Linked DNA regions of Homo sapiens: regions 1, 2 and 4 are each linked to region 3. Evidence: promoter capture Hi-C in 16 types of primary human blood cells and fetal thymus (Javierre and others, 2016). All regions are on one chromosome and are shown on one strand. Each heading gives the region's core, a stretch centred on a gene start or on the middle of the fragment in contact. The rest is flanking DNA. Distances are from core to core; before and after follow the strand shown.

Region 1 (3,958 bases), core at 343-2,842, 250 kb before region 3:
ACCCCTCACTTCTGAAGAAGTTCTGGCATGCAGGGTCTGGTTCTCTTCCAGCCTTGTTGGTTCCGAGGGGCGGAATCCCTGGTTCTGGGTGTCGTTAGAAGTCAAAGCTTTTTCTATTGCACATTCCCAGACTACATGACTTGCAACTGTGGACTCTGTTATAAGGTAACTCAACATTTTGTTATCAACAGAACAGGCCCAGTGTGGGCTGGTCCTGCAATTATAGAAGCAGAGAGCCTGCAAGAGTCAAGGAGCCCTAGGGTGAGGGTAAGAGTTCTTTGGGGCCTGAAGAGAACTTGGCTTATGGAGATCCACAAACCCTGAGACGAAAGGCAGTTGTCTGAAGGAATGTTCCTGGGTCGAAGGTCTCTCTGGCCTTCAGGGTGCTTCAGGGGAAATGAAGAGTGGGGCCAGGTCTTCCGTAGTTCTGAGACTGTGTGGATTCTAGCCTTTGTAGATGAGGAGATTCTCCCAGTGATGCTCCCACTGCCCCCAACAGAGGACTGACAGCTTGCAGACTGGTTCTGCTGCTGAAGATGTTGCAGCAACCTGAACTCAGCCCTAAGGGTGAATGGAGCCGTAGCCAGCAAAGGGAAAATTTTAGTTGCACACTTCACTGGACCCAGCAACAGAGAGGAAGCACAGGGAGAGTGCTCAGAACAGGTTGCCCGGGCAGCCAGCGTTATAGGCACTGGCGTGAGGCAAAGTCAGCTAGTTATAGCAATACAACTTCGATCTCAGAGCTGGCTGACATTCAGTATTAAGTAAAAAGGACATTCTGCAACTAAAACCATGAGTTTCAATTTTAAACAATCAGGACTGGGCACGGTGGCTCACAGTCCCAGCACTTTGGGAGGCTGAGATAGGAGGATCACGTAAGGCCAGGAGTTTGAGAACAGCCTGGGTGACATAGTAAGACCCCATCTACAAAAAAAATAATAAAATTATCAAATAAATAATCAGGATGGGATACTCTTGAAAACAAAATTAGTGACTTGGAAAGGTACTTGGAGGAAATATTCCAAAACAAAAACCCAAAATATACAGATTAAGGCTGTGAGGGAAAAGTTAAGGAACTCAGAAGACAGATTCAGAAGATTCAGCATTTGGGGATGAGAACATGGAAGAGTTAATTAATATTCATCTGAGGAAGTGAAAAAAAATTGTATAACCAAAATGATGGTAAAAAATGAAATGATTAAAGATAAAAGCTAGAATGAATGACCTAGAAGATAAAATAGTCACAAGGATTAATAAATACAAAAACTGATTATTTGAAAGATCCAGTGAAATCAGTTAACTCTTTTCTTGCCTAAGGAAAAAATATATATATACAAATAAGAAATGAGAAAGAACATACCCAGATATAGATAAGATCCAAAGAATTATAAAGGAATAGTATATGCTACCCTGTGTCAACAAATTTAAAAACATAGAGAAATAAATGATTTCTTAACAAACATTTAGGAACATAAGGGCATGTTGAAAACAGATTAACAGAGGCTGATCACATGGAGTGAAACTAGAAATAACAGAAAGATGAGCAAAATTCACAAATATGTGGAAATTAAATAACACCCTTATAAATAACCAGTGGAACAAAGAGGAATCACAAGGAGAACTGGAAAGTACTTTGAAGCCAGGTGCAGTAGCTCATGCTTGTAATTGCAGTACTTTGGGAGGCTGAGGCAGGAGGATCACTTGATCCCAGGAGTTCAAGACTAGCCTGGGCAACATAGCAAGACCTCATCTCTCCAAAAAAATTAGCCTAGCATGGTGGCAAGCACCTGTGGTCCCAGCTACTTTGGGGGCTGAGGTGGGAGGATCACTTGAGTCCAGGAGGTTGAGGCTGCAGTGAGCCATGATCACGCCACTGCACTCCAGCCTAGACAACAGAGTGAGACTCTGTTTCTAAGAGAAGAAAAAAAGAGAGGAAGTACTTTCCAACTAATTAAAATGAAGATACCGCATATCAAACATCACGGGCTGTAGCTAAAACAGTGCTAACAGGAAAGTTTATAGCTGTAAATAACTACATTAAAAAAGAAGAAAGAGCTGGGTGCCATGATTCATGCTTGTAATCCCAACACTTTGGGAGTCTGAGGTGGGAGGATCACTTGAGCTCAGGAGTTCAAGACCAGCCTCGGCAACATAGTGGGACCCTCTTTGTACAAATTAAAAAATTAGCCAGGTGTGGTGGCATGCATCTGTGGTCCCAGCTGCTTGGGAGGCTGAAGTGGGAGGATCACTTACACCCAGAGGTCTAGGCTGCAGTGAGCCATGTTCACACCATTGCACCCCAGCCTGTGACAGAGCAAGATCCTGTCTCGAAAAAAAAAGAAGCCTGGACCAGATAGTGAGACTTAGTCTCTACAAAAAATTAAAAAAGTAGCTGGGCACAGTGGCGTGTTTCTGTAGTCCCAGCTACTCGAGAGGCCGAGGCCAGAGGATTGCTTGAGCCCAGGAGGTTGAGGCTGCAGTGAACTGTGATGGTGCCGCTGCACTCCAGCCTGGTTGACCCTGTTTTAAAAAAGAAAAAAGAAGAAAGATCTTAAACCAACTTAATCTTCCACCCTAAAACAACAGAGAAAGAAGTACATTAAGCTCAAAGCAAGCAGAAGGAAGGAAAGAATCAGGATTCGAGCAAAAAAAAATCAATAACGTAGAGATGGGGAGCAGGAGAGGAGGGGAATTATAAGAAAATAAAATATAGTGAAATAAAATTTAGTACAACAGATGTTAGCTGCGTAAAACTGCGTGTGTGTGTGTGCACAGGGGCATAGGTGGAAAGATGTATGAAAGGATGGGACTCAAACAGTTGTCTCTAGGTGGTAGAATATCAGGTGATTTTACTTTTTGTCCTTATGTTTTTAGATTATTTAAAATTTTTAAAGCCTTGATCATATGTTATTTAGTCAATTCAAAAAAGATATTTTTATGGTGGAGAACATGCGTATTGTGAAACAACTAAATGCATAGTAAGTTGGTTATAGGCTCATTTGCACCTGGTTCTCCTGATCTCAGAGGGTTCCTCCATCAGCTGATGGATATGGGATAAGGTTGGCTTTGAAGCTTGCCCTGGGGCTGGAGGCAAAACATAACCACCTCCATCTGCCCTAGCGGCACCTCTATCCTAATAAATACAGTGAGGTAGTCTCCCAGGGCACCCAGTTCAAACTCTGCAGAATAGGATAATATTTAACATCAAGTGGACTCAGAATACAACTCTCTGGTTCTCAAATGACCAAGTAGCAGAATGAAATGTAACTTTCAGGCCTGCATCTGGATTTCTCTGCGTGTGGCGCTGCTGGCTCTGCCTCATCCTTGCTGCTGTGCCTTTCCGCGCTGTCTTCTCATCCAGGGCATTTCTGTGTTATGCGCACAGAAGGCTTTTGTTCTTTCTGCAGTCATTCCCTGCCCACATATATGCTGCAGCAGGGACCTTTCTCTTTGGTGAATTTTCTTTCTAAGAGAGAATTCATCAGCTCAAGGGAAAGGTTAGGATCTAGAAAATGTGAGGTTTTTAAGGCTCTGTTATGTGGCTTCCTACCAAGTCATGTTGTAGGTTTCTCTAGCAACAGAAAAGTGAATGAGATTTAATTCAGGAATAGACAGTCAATATGGATCATAAAAAGGTTTTATAAGTGCTATAGATTGAATGTTTGCATTCCTTCAAAATTCACCTGTTGAAATCCTAACTCCAGGCCAGACGCGGTGGTTCACGCCTGTAATCCCAGCACTTTGGGAGGCCGAGGCAGGCGGATCACCTGAGATCAGGAGTTTGAGACCAGCCTGGCCAACGTAGTGAAACTCCATCTCTGCTGCAAATACAAAAATTAGCCAGGTGTGGTGGCAGGGGCCTGTAATCCCAGCTACTCGGGAGGCTGAGGCAGGACAATTGCTTGAACCTGGGAGGCAGAGGTTGCAGTGAGCCAAGATCGCACCACTGCACCCCAGC
Region 2 (3,640 bases), core at 619-3,118, 240 kb after region 3:
CAACAGACACTGGGAACTACTAGAAATGGGAGGGAAGGGAGGGGCATGGGCTGCAAAGCTAACTATTGGGTACTATGCTCACTACCCAAGTGACAGGATAATCCATACCCCAAATCTCAGTATCGCACAATATGCCCATATAACAAACCTGCGTATGTACTCTCTGAGTCCAAAATAAAAGTTGAAAAAAAGTAGAAAAAAAGAATTTGGATATTAAATTTTAGAAGCTTAAAAGAAGAGCCCTTTAGGGCACAGAAATCATATTAAAAGATTTGTACTTAAAAAAAGGCAAGCATTCTTTAATAATAACAAGTATTGGCATATAGTCCTACCACCTAGACAATCTCTGATGGTACACTAGTGATTAAAAATGATATATTCATGGTTTAAAATTGTTTAAAAATTCAAACTATGTAGGTTGGCATAAAATGAAAATTAATGCATCCTTATCAAAACTTTAGATTAAAAGAACTTAAGAAACATATCAACAAACAATAAAGTGTATGGATTTAGTTTCAAGCAAAGCAACTATTAAAATTATGACCAATGAGTCATGCCTGTAACCCCAGCACTTTGAGAGGCCAAGGCAGGAGGATCACTTGAGCTCAGGAGTTCAAGACCAGCCTGGGCAACATAGTGACCTCATCTCTACAAAATAAAACAAAACAAAGCCAGGCATGGTGATGTGCACCTGCAGTCCCAGCTACTCAGGACACTGAGGCTGCAATGAGCCATGCTCATACCACTGCACTATAGCCCAGGCAACAGAGCAAGACCCATTTCAAAAACAAAAAAAGCAAACAAAAAATATTTATGATATATCTGAAAAATTTTGAGCACTGCAATTGGAAATTGATAATATTCAGGAAATGGTACTCATTTTTAGATGTGACATATTTCAGTTGTGTTTTGTTTTGTTTGTTTGTTTGTTTGTTTAGACAGAGTCTCTTTCTGTTCCCCAGGCTGGAGTGCAGCATTGCAATCATAGCTCACTGTAAACTTGAACTCCTGACCTCAAGCGATCCTCCCACCTGGGTCTCCCGAAGTTCTAGGATTACAGGTATGAGCCACCCTGGCCTGGTCTATTTTAGTTATAAATTTTTAAAAGAATCCTTATATCTAAGAGCTATACTGTCCAGTTGTGTAGCCCCTAGCCACACGTGACTGTTTACATTTAGATTTAAGTCAATTAAAATAGGAAAAACTTAAAAAGTTTAGTTCCTCAGCCACATCAGTCACATTTCCAGTGCTTGATTAGCCATGTATGGCTCGTAGATAGTATTGGAAAGTACATATATAGGATATTTTCATCATTGCAGAGAATCCTGTTGGACAACATTATCTTAGAGATATATACTGAAGTATTCCACTAATGAAATTCTGTAACACCTGAAAATTGCTTTAAAATAATAACAGTAGAACTAGAAGTAGAGTGAGTGAGGACATAAACAAAACAAGATTGACTACAAGTTAATCATTATTGAAGCTGGGTGATCATGAAGAAAGGAATTATCTATTCTCCCTACTTATGTGTATGTTTAGAATTTTTCATAACAGAAGGTCACCACACCCTCTGCCTTTTAAGGAAAGTATCCACATCCTCTGCCTCAACCACTCTAGGCTCTGAGTATTTCTCCCTGTAGGCATTTTCTTTGGAATCCTTAGAAAAATAATTAAAATCATCTACATGTGCATATGACAGCTGTCTTTGTCTGTTTGTATTGTGATAACAACACAACAGACTTTATAAATTACCCTGAAGCTGGTAATTTATAAAGAAAAGAGGTTTATTTGGCTCATGGTTCTGCAGGCTATACAAGAACCATGGCACCAGCATCTGCTTCTGATGAGAGCCTCAGGCCCCCTTCATTTGTGGCAGAAGGCAGAGTGAAGCTGGTGTATGCAGAGGTCACATGGTGAAGAAGATGCAAGAGAGAGAGCTGGGAGGTGCCAGGCTATTTTTAACAACCAGCACTTGCAGGAACTAGCACAGTGTGAACTCACTCATTACAAAGAGGATGGCACCAAGACATTTATGAGGGATCTGCTCCCATGACCCAAACATCTCCCACTAGACCCCACTCCCAACACTGGGCTTCAACATTCAATATGAGATTTGGAGGGGGGCAAACAAATGAAACTATAGCAACAACATTTCATATACTTTGTAAATTTGCCTAGGAAGATAATACAATACATGCTATTCAGTTATTTGCATTTTTATCAAATATTCAGCACATGCAAATCTGCCTCCTTCTTTCTAAAGGCTACTCAGTGTTACATTGTATAGGTGTATCATAATTTACTTAAATAGCCACCTGTGGATGGATGCAGCGTAGTGAATGCATTTGGGAAGATCCTAGATTAGGTGAGAAAGACCTGTGAATTACCTACATGAGAGAGATGGATCAGATTAAAGTAATTCAGTGAAATAGAGAGAAGAGCTCAGATTGAAAAAAACATTAAAGAAGTAAAATCAAGAGAACTTGGTGATTTCTTATAAATGAAGAATGAGGGAGAAGAAGAGGGAGAGGACTCTTGGTTTTTTGGCTTGAACAAATAGTGATGCCAGTCTCTAAAGAGAGAAATGAAATCACCCTCACAGGAAGGGAAAGCTGATGAGCTTTGTTTTAGACATGTTGAGATTCAGGTGCCTATAAGTCCTCCCAGCGGAGATGTGGGGTAAACAGTTGGCTATATGCATCTAAGGTCAGAAGAGGGTGGAGAAATTGAAGTAGAGGTCATCAGCATATACAAGGTGATGGAAACCAGAGGAGTGAATGAAACTACCTCTAATTTTCTGGTTCTCACCTCCCTACTCAAAGTGTATGATAAGGCTCCTCCAACTCTCAATCTCCCAGGCCTATGCACATACACAGATGGAATGGTTCTACAGCCAACCCCATGATTCACTGTTTTATGACATCCAGTTCTCACATATGCATTATTCATGAACACAGAGAGAGTGACATGATAAGATCTGTGTTATGTGATGGAAAAGTGAAAGCTGGGAAGCTATGAATTATTTTTCTAGTCATCTATATGAATAACAATGAAGGCTTAATCTGGGCAGGGAAATGGGCACGAATATGAGGTAATAGATTTGGGAAATATTTGTGCTAATAACTATTAAAAGTTGTAAGGTACATAGGCCCACTAAGATCATCTTAAGTGGTACATTATAAAGATGAATGAGAAAATGAGAAATGTGAAACTATCTACATATTTTCAGCAGGTTTCAAAGAGATATGGATCATCATCAAGGTATCACACAACTCATACCACCTGATATTGTTTCAACTTATTCATGATTTTCTGCTTATTCATGACTTTGCTACCTGATGGCTTTGACTTTTATAGTGTTTTCTGCATTGCTGTCTGTTTCTGTGTTTCTCTACCATTTGTGTACTTCTCTGTATGTCTCACATTCAAATTCCGCAAGAGACAGTATAATTGGTTGAAGAAATCGTTAGCCAGCGTGGGGTAGCCTTGTGAAGAAGAAAGCTTTTACGCCTCCTCATGGGTTGCCTCTAAGTCACATTTTGTTTTTTCTTCAGTGGAGCTTTTATGTATTAATACAAATATGCAATCCCCTGAATTTCAAAAGAAAAGCTTTATTTTTATATTATGTATTTCATTT
Region 3 (3,612 bases), core at 335-2,834:
AAGTGAAGTGCTGCTATGGCAAAGACATGCTGCTTCAAGGGTTAAACTTTAAAACACTCATTTTGATATATAAAGAAATTATAAACAAAGCACAAGGCAAAGTTGCAATTTCAGTTTGTGTTCAAAGTAGTAATAATTTCCTAAACTGACACTGTTGTTTTGCTTAGTCCAGACCTTTGAAAACAAACGAGTTTTACAAAAGCTATATTAGTAATGTAACAATTAGTGCACTACCACTATTTTCCCCTCTTTTTCTGAGTCTCAGAGAAGATGAAGTTTTCTTGATCATCTTTTTAAAATAAAAGTTGTAGGCCAGGTGAAGCTTTCAAGGTGACTTTGAGACTGAGGGAAGGAAGGAAATGGGGAAGGGAAAACAAACAAACAAACCAAAAAAACACTACAGATTACTTCATACCTCTTTCAAGCTTAAACAGAACTCTACTTTGGCTTTCTAATAAGCTAGTTTTCCAAAAGAGAGTTTGGGCTTTGGCCTAAGACCCCTCTGGAGCCACTGACTTGCCCATTAGATACAGTCTCAGGAAAGCTAATATAATGGCACATTTCGTCTACAAACTTAAGTGAAAAATAACCAGGTACAAAACTTTGGGTTCTCTATCTTAAAAGCAGCAAATATCTGTGTTCTTTTCTCAAAACTGGATTCTGTCAATTTCCTGAATTAACCACTTTACCATTGTGGTTTGCTTGCTTGTTTTTGTTGGGCAGAGTTGCAAATGTAATAAGGGAAGGGGGTCCTTGCACTGGTTTAGTACCAGGCAAGGTTACCAAGGGGGCTCATTCTGGTTCCAGAAAGTGGAGATGGTCATCCTCACTCTCCAGAACTGGGAGTGGCTCATTCCCACTCCCCGGAATCTGGAGTGGGTCTTCCCCACACCCCAAAACTGAGAGCAGATCAACCCCACCCTCCGCAGAAGAAAGACAGTCAGGGCCAAGCTCTTTTGCCCCCTGAGACTTTGGACTTGATTGTCCCCATCAGACCTTCAAAAGATCTGAATGTGGCCGACTTCTTCACGCCTCCAAGCTTCCTGCAGATGAGAGTGCCCATGGTGGACAGAGCAGCTGATGTCTTCTGTTTCACATAGGTGTTGGAGACCTGAACATCAAGCCAGCTCTTGGACAGATTCTGTCTCAGCCCTACCAAGGCGGTGAGGCCTAACTTCCTCTTGAGTTCCCCACAGCGTCTCTCTTTGGCTGCTAGTACGTGGCGTAGGGTTACAATTTCAGCCTCCAATTTAGTGAGTTTGGTTTTGAGCTCTCTTTGCTCGGGCTCTGTCAGATCCTCCAGTTCAGAAGTCGAGTGGGATTCATATGTGCCCACAGAGGTCTCTGTCCTGGCATGTGGCATGGACTGGGAAAGAAGATCTTCGTTAAGAGAGTCCAGGTCCAATTCTTGGTAGAAAGAGTCGAATTATTGGGCTGCAGAGAAATAATCTTGGCCAGCAGAGTCGAAATCTAGGCCTGCAGGCTCAGACTCTTGGCAGGTGGAGTCAGATTTCAGGCGGGAGGGATCCATGGCCCAGCTGGTACAATGGACACCTTGACAGTTGAGTTGACGACCTGGCCTGTGAAGTAGACACGCTAGCTCGTGGTGTTCACTTCCGGGTGGTGGGGGTGGGGAGCCGGGCTGGTCAGGGTTGCGGAGGTGGGACTTCCCGCCCAAACCGCGAGGCTGTAGAATCAGTGCTCAGCTGAGGCGCAACCCACACTGGCGGCATTTTGGCATTGCGAGGACCTCCTGAGGTAGGCAGTGCAGAGATTATTGTCGAAAAGAGAGGAATTTCTCCTGACATGGTAAATGACAAGCCCTGGCCTTCAAACCAAAGCGTCAGGCAACTGTTTTCCACCACACCAGCTCCAACACTTGAAAATCATTTAAACATCATTGTGCTAGTATGAATTTTCAGTTTTGCAGTTGCATTTTCTTTATTCCGCCCTACCTCCACTCACATTTCTGGAAGCATGTCTGCCTACATTCAAGGTTACCTGTTGTGGGAGGTAGTCTGCACAGTAAAGTAAAACTAGTTAAATAGGATCTATCAGAGTGTGGATCCACTCTCCCCTGCCAACCTGCCACCCCAACCTCCCCCCAACCGTAATTCTGCCGAGAGTAAACTTATGCAATGGAAAAATCAGGACGTTAATCCAGTGAGGTCTTGTGGTCGAGCTTCACTTAGCTCATTCTATGGCTGCCTATTCTCAGAGAATATTCTTGAGCAAGTCTTAGACTCTAGTGATTTTGTTGGATATTCTTGTAATTCTTGCGAGCATGATCTTGTGGAACATAATTTGATCCTCAGCAAATTTCAGCAGTTTGCCCTACTCATGCCTATGTGGCTACAATGAAGCATCCAGCTGTGCATTCAAACCAACTTCAGCCCTCCTTTGAGTTTATGTTCTATAACCCTTTCACATAATTTAGTAGTGTTTATTATTGCCTTGTCCTGAGTGGTGTGTTTCCCTAAGTTAAAAAGTGAGAATTGTTCTTGTAAACATGAAGGCTGATGGAGGATTTGGCTATGTGTTTAAAGGCCTGAAAAGGGCAGCAAGGACTCCCTAAAAACCAATTTGTTCCAGAGGGTAGACTTTTCCTCTATTGCCTGTAGAAACACTAGTGGTTTCAGGAACACTCCCAGACTCTGAATCAGAACTCCTCTTTCAAACCTGAGACTAAAGGGTAAAGAAATCCCTGAATTATGCTACATAATATAGAACACACATTGTCTCTTCAAAGTTGAGACTCCAAATCACCAAATCTGAACTTGCACTTGATTTTACTTCTCTGTATTATTTCAACCACCAACCTTGATGCCTATTTTCTTTATAAGCTTCCTCATCCTTCAGTGTATACTATGAAATCTTTTATTAAGCCTTGATTCCTTTTGACAGAGAATGGTTTTTTTTCTCATAGCAAAACTGAGCTTTTCAGACACTTAGTTGCCAGATCCCACATCAAGACATACCCTGTCATTCAAATAGGAAAATAAGAAGTCAAATTATTTCTTTTTCAGATGATATGATTCCATATCCAGAAAACCCGAAAGGCTCCACCAAAAGGCTCCTGGAACTGATAAATGACTTCAGTAAAGTTTCAGGATATAAATTCAGTATCATTTCTATATATCAATAATGTGGCCGGGCGCGGTGGCTCACACCTGTAATCCCAGCACTTTGGGAGGCTGAGGCGGGCGGATCACGAGGTCAGGAGATCGAGACCATCCCGGCTAAAACGGTGAAACCCCGTCTCTACTAAAAATACAAAAAATTAGCCGGGCGTAGTGGCGGGCGCCTGTAGTCCCAGCTACTTGGGAGGCTGAGGCAGGAGAATGGCGTGAACCCGGGAGACGGAGCTTGCAGTGAGCCGAGATCCCGCCACTGCACTCCAGCCTGGGCGACAGAGCGAGACTCCGTCTCAAAAAAAAAAAAAAAAAAAAAAAAAAAAAAAAAAAAAAATAGACAAAAGACATGAACAGACACTTTTCAGAAGAAGACATACAAGTGGCCAACAAACATATGAAAAAACATATGAGAAAATGTTCCACATCACTAATCATCAGAGAAATTCAAATCAAAACTGTAATGAGATAACATCTCACA
Region 4 (3,648 bases), core at 752-3,251, 220 kb after region 3:
CAGATGGTACAGAACCACTACTCAGAACAGTGAGAGAAGGAGCAGGAAACAAGGAGTCAGGGAAGCTAGTATTCCAACCTTAGGGCTTGAGCCCCAGCCGAAAACTCCATCTGCAAACAGCCACTGAGCCACTGAAGCAGACAAAGCTGGAAGGCTATGAGCACCATTTCCATCTCCCCTTCTCCAGCCTCAACAGCGTGAGTAGATATTGGACTGCACAGCAGCAGCTCAGGCTTTCTGAGTCTACCAGGGGTGCCCATCTTGGGGGAGATTTTGAACACTTCAAGCAAGGATTATTTGCAAAGAATATAAAAACAGAAAGAATGCAAGGAATGGTAACATAAATATCTCAAGCCAAGAGAAGTTTGTTCATTTTAAGAAAAGAACTCAAATAATACAAGGTCAGGGAACAACATGTAGCCAGGCTGTAGCTGAAAGTTATATAATCTTTATCTTGAAAGTTAGAACAAGCTTTGTCCAGGAGGGCAGGGCCATATGATAAAGTCAGTGGTGCCTGGGCCCATGGCCCATACCTTCAGTAGGAATCCATATAGGGAATATGTAAAAGGGATTCCAGACAGAGAGGTATGGGTAGCCAGGCAGCCCAGCCAGACTTTGTTGTCAGAAGATCTGGCTTCTAGGCATAGCTCTGCCACTTAGCTGTGTAACCTTAGGCTCACATCTTCACCAATTCTCATTTTCCTTAATGTGTAATGGGGATGATAATGGGACCCACTTGGGAGACTTACGAGGAAGATTAAATCATATATATAGTGCTCATCATAATCCTAGTTCATAGTAAGCTCTTAATAATTACAGATTATTACAATTACTGTAACTGTAAAACCCATGCAAATTTATGAATATCAAGATTGTTCACCTGGGCTTGGAGGCCCATGCCTGCAATCCTAGCACTTTGGCAGGAGGATTGCTTGAGCCCAGGATTTCAAGACCAGCCTAGGGAACTTGGCAAGACCCCATCTCTACAAAACATTTTTAAAAATTAGCCAGGTGTGGTGGCTGTAGTCCCAGCTACTCAAGAGGCTGAGGTGGGAGGATCAATTAAGCCCAGGTGATTTGAGTCTGCCGTGAGCTGTATTTACACCACTGCACTCCAGCCTGGGTGCCAGAGCAAGACCGTGTCTCAAAAGAGGCCGAGCATGGTGGCTCACGCCTGTAATCCCAGCACTTTGGGAGGCCGAGGTGGGCAGATCACGAGGTCAGGAGATCGAGACCATCCTGGCTAACATGGTGAAATCCCGTCTCTACTAAAAGTACAAAAAAAATTAGCTGGGCATGGTGGCAGGCTCCTGTAGTCCCAGCTACTTGGGAGGCTGAGGAAGGAAAATGGCGTGAACCCGGGAGGCAAAGCTTGCAGTAAACCGAGATCACGCCACTGCACTCCAGCCTGGGTGACAGAGCGACACTCTGTCTCAAAAATAAATAAATAAAAACAAAAGAAAGTTTTTTTAAAAACAAAAATAAGAAATATTAATTTATTTCTGTCCCTCAGTATTTGCATTTTAACAATGGGTTTTTCAAAAAAGCAAAATCATCCATGTAAGAACTACTCGTTACTCTGAGATTATGTTCTTCCTGAGTTTTGGTGGTTGAAATATTCTTTCTTTAATGAAATGCTACTGGGTACTTAATGCTATCACTAGACAAAATAAAAAGCAATCAACTCTAAGTCAGTTGCCACAAATAGAAAATTTTACCAGTCTGTGGAATACAAATGTCTTGGAGCCACTGGAGTCATGGCAAGGTGGAAAAGAAATGTTGGGTCACATTTCATCTTGTATCATCCTCCAAATACCATTACAATTTGGAACATTCTCTTAGCCTTGAATTAGGAGTTGGGAAGAAAAAGGAATGAGAGGATATCAATTCCTCAACGTGTCTTTCCTTTGCATTAGAGGTCTATTTTCAAACAAGTTTTACATTAAGTTATTGTCTCTCAGCTACCCTTCTCTATACACTTATGCAATTCAGGCCTGGGACTCAAAACATCATTTTTAGCTTTGCCAGCTGCTCCAGTTAGGCTCTGTCACTAGAGGGTGTTACAGAGGGAGACAGCCAGGCTGGAGGAGAGAGAAAGGACAGGTTCCTTTCAGTTTGTTCCCTATAGGCTTGTCAGCTTGTGGTTTCTGTAAGATCACTCCAGGAGTGCTTCTTCACCCATGCCGTTCCATAGCAGCAGCTGATTCCAATTTGCAGTTTTTGCAACTTTCGCAAAAACAGCTTCATCATGCCCCCACCTCATAGACACAAGTGAGCTATAAATAGTGCCCTGTCCTCAAAGGTTTCAGTGGCAGGCCCACAGGGCTGCTTATCCCAGCTCACAGCCAGCACAAGTTGTGGGGCCCTTTCTCAAAGTTTCTAACTTCTAATAAATCCAAGCACTTCCCTCTGCTATCCCCAGCCCCAGGAGTGGTAGCTGCTTCCTGCAGTTGCTATCTCCATGTTACTTTCATTGTTGTTTTTTTGTTTGTTTGTTTGTTAATTTAATCCTTTCAGTTACCTAGTTACCAACCATTCCTTAAAGTCTCTATGTTCAAGTAACTGGTGTAGCTTCTGTTTCCTGCTTGCACTCTGATAGAGTATATATAAATCTATTTTCAAGAAAGCTTTAATTTTTTCAAATTTGTATACTAAAGGGTTTATTTTAAGGCTTAAACAATAATTGTAGGGAAGTCTTCTAGACTACTCCAAAATAACCAATTAAAAAAATACAGCAACTTCCAGGGAACACTCAATTTATTTTGAAAATAACATTTTCAAAGTTATTCTTTGGGTGTTGAAAAGCAAATAAGTCCTATCCAACCCAAAAGAAACCTACTAGTTATTTTCCTCCAGGAAGAGAGAGAGAGAGAGAAGTTAATTTTTATTTGTATAAATTTAGGGAGTACAAGTACAATTTTGTTACATGGATATATTGAGTGGTGGTAAAGCCTGAATTTTTAGTGTATTCACTGCTAGAATAATATACATTTTACTCACTAAGTAATTTCTTACCCTATGCTTTCTTCCCACGTTCGGAATCTCCAATGTCTATCATTCCACACTGTATGTCCATGTGTACACGTTATTTATCTATTACTTAAAATTTTCTTTCTGCTTATCAGGAAGTATATTTTAAGCTGAAACATATAGGCACCAGCCTGATAAAATTTGGAGGGATGTTCATGTACACTAAAGTGTGTTTAGTCCAGAGAATTTTCTCTGCCCCAGAATTTACACACTTCATTCTCTGCTATGTTCTTATCATCACAAAGCATTTCTCTATTATTCAGTAGGCAGAAAAGTTCACACCAATGATGATCAAAGGCAGGAAATGGAGGCATAAAGGGCTAGGGCTAAAAACCAACTTTTATGAAGTACTTGCTCTGTTCCAGGTGCTATCTCATGTATCTTTTCTAGCAACCCAACATTGTAGGGATTGATATTCCCATCTCACAGATGAGCACAGTGGGACTTACAGGGATTAAATAACTTGTTCTGGGGTGTGGAATAAGCGTCAGAGCAGAGCCAGGATTCAAAACCAGCCCTGATACCTTCAAATTTTCTTATCTTTTTGATTTTTTATTTATTTTATTTTTTTTTAGAAAACACTACCTTGCATCCATAGGACCCATGAGCATAAAGGAA

What was found. The method cuts DNA at HindIII sites, captures the fragments that hold promoters and counts their contacts. A CHiCAGO score of 5 or more calls a contact.
Region 1: a fragment that was not itself captured here is called in contact with the fragment with the promoter of TPD52L3 in region 3 in 1 of 17 cell types (endothelial precursors); the score reaches 9.2 in endothelial precursors.
Region 2: a contact is called between a fragment that was not itself captured here and the fragment with the promoter of TPD52L3 in region 3, in 1 of 17 cell types (endothelial precursors). The highest score is 5.5, in endothelial precursors.
Region 4: a contact is called between a fragment that was not itself captured here and the fragment with the promoter of TPD52L3 in region 3, in 1 of 17 cell types (endothelial precursors). The highest score is 5.4, in endothelial precursors.

What each region holds. Positions count from the first base shown.
Region 1 is chr9:6,576,512-6,580,469 of GRCh38, reverse strand. All of the region lies in intron 15 of GLDC (glycine decarboxylase), which reads left to right. Among named protein-coding and RNA genes, the nearest start is that of GLDC, 67 kb to the left of the region's middle. The HindIII fragment of the contact is 2,965 bases long and covers 110-3,074 here.
Region 2 is chr9:6,088,774-6,092,413 of GRCh38, reverse strand. No RefSeq gene overlaps it. Among named protein-coding and RNA genes, the nearest start is that of RANBP6, 75 kb to the right of the region's middle. The HindIII fragment of the contact is 3,277 bases long and covers 230-3,506 here.
Region 3 is chr9:6,326,347-6,329,958 of GRCh38, reverse strand. It overlaps TPD52L3 (TPD52 like 3), which reads right to left and starts at 1,584. Exons shown (of 2, transcript NM_001001874.3): 1 at 997-1,584. The coding sequence starts at 1,363. LOC107987046 (a long non-coding RNA gene) reads left to right here and starts at 1,691. Exons shown (of 3, transcript XR_001746614.2): 1 at 1,691-1,758. The HindIII fragment of the contact is 1,804 bases long and covers 1,042-2,845 here.
Region 4 is chr9:6,105,630-6,109,277 of GRCh38, reverse strand. No RefSeq gene overlaps it. Among named protein-coding and RNA genes, the nearest start is that of RANBP6, 92 kb to the right of the region's middle. RefSeq lists enhancers at 1,767-2,267, 2,470-2,519, 2,268-2,768. The HindIII fragment of the contact is 1,256 bases long and covers 1,374-2,629 here.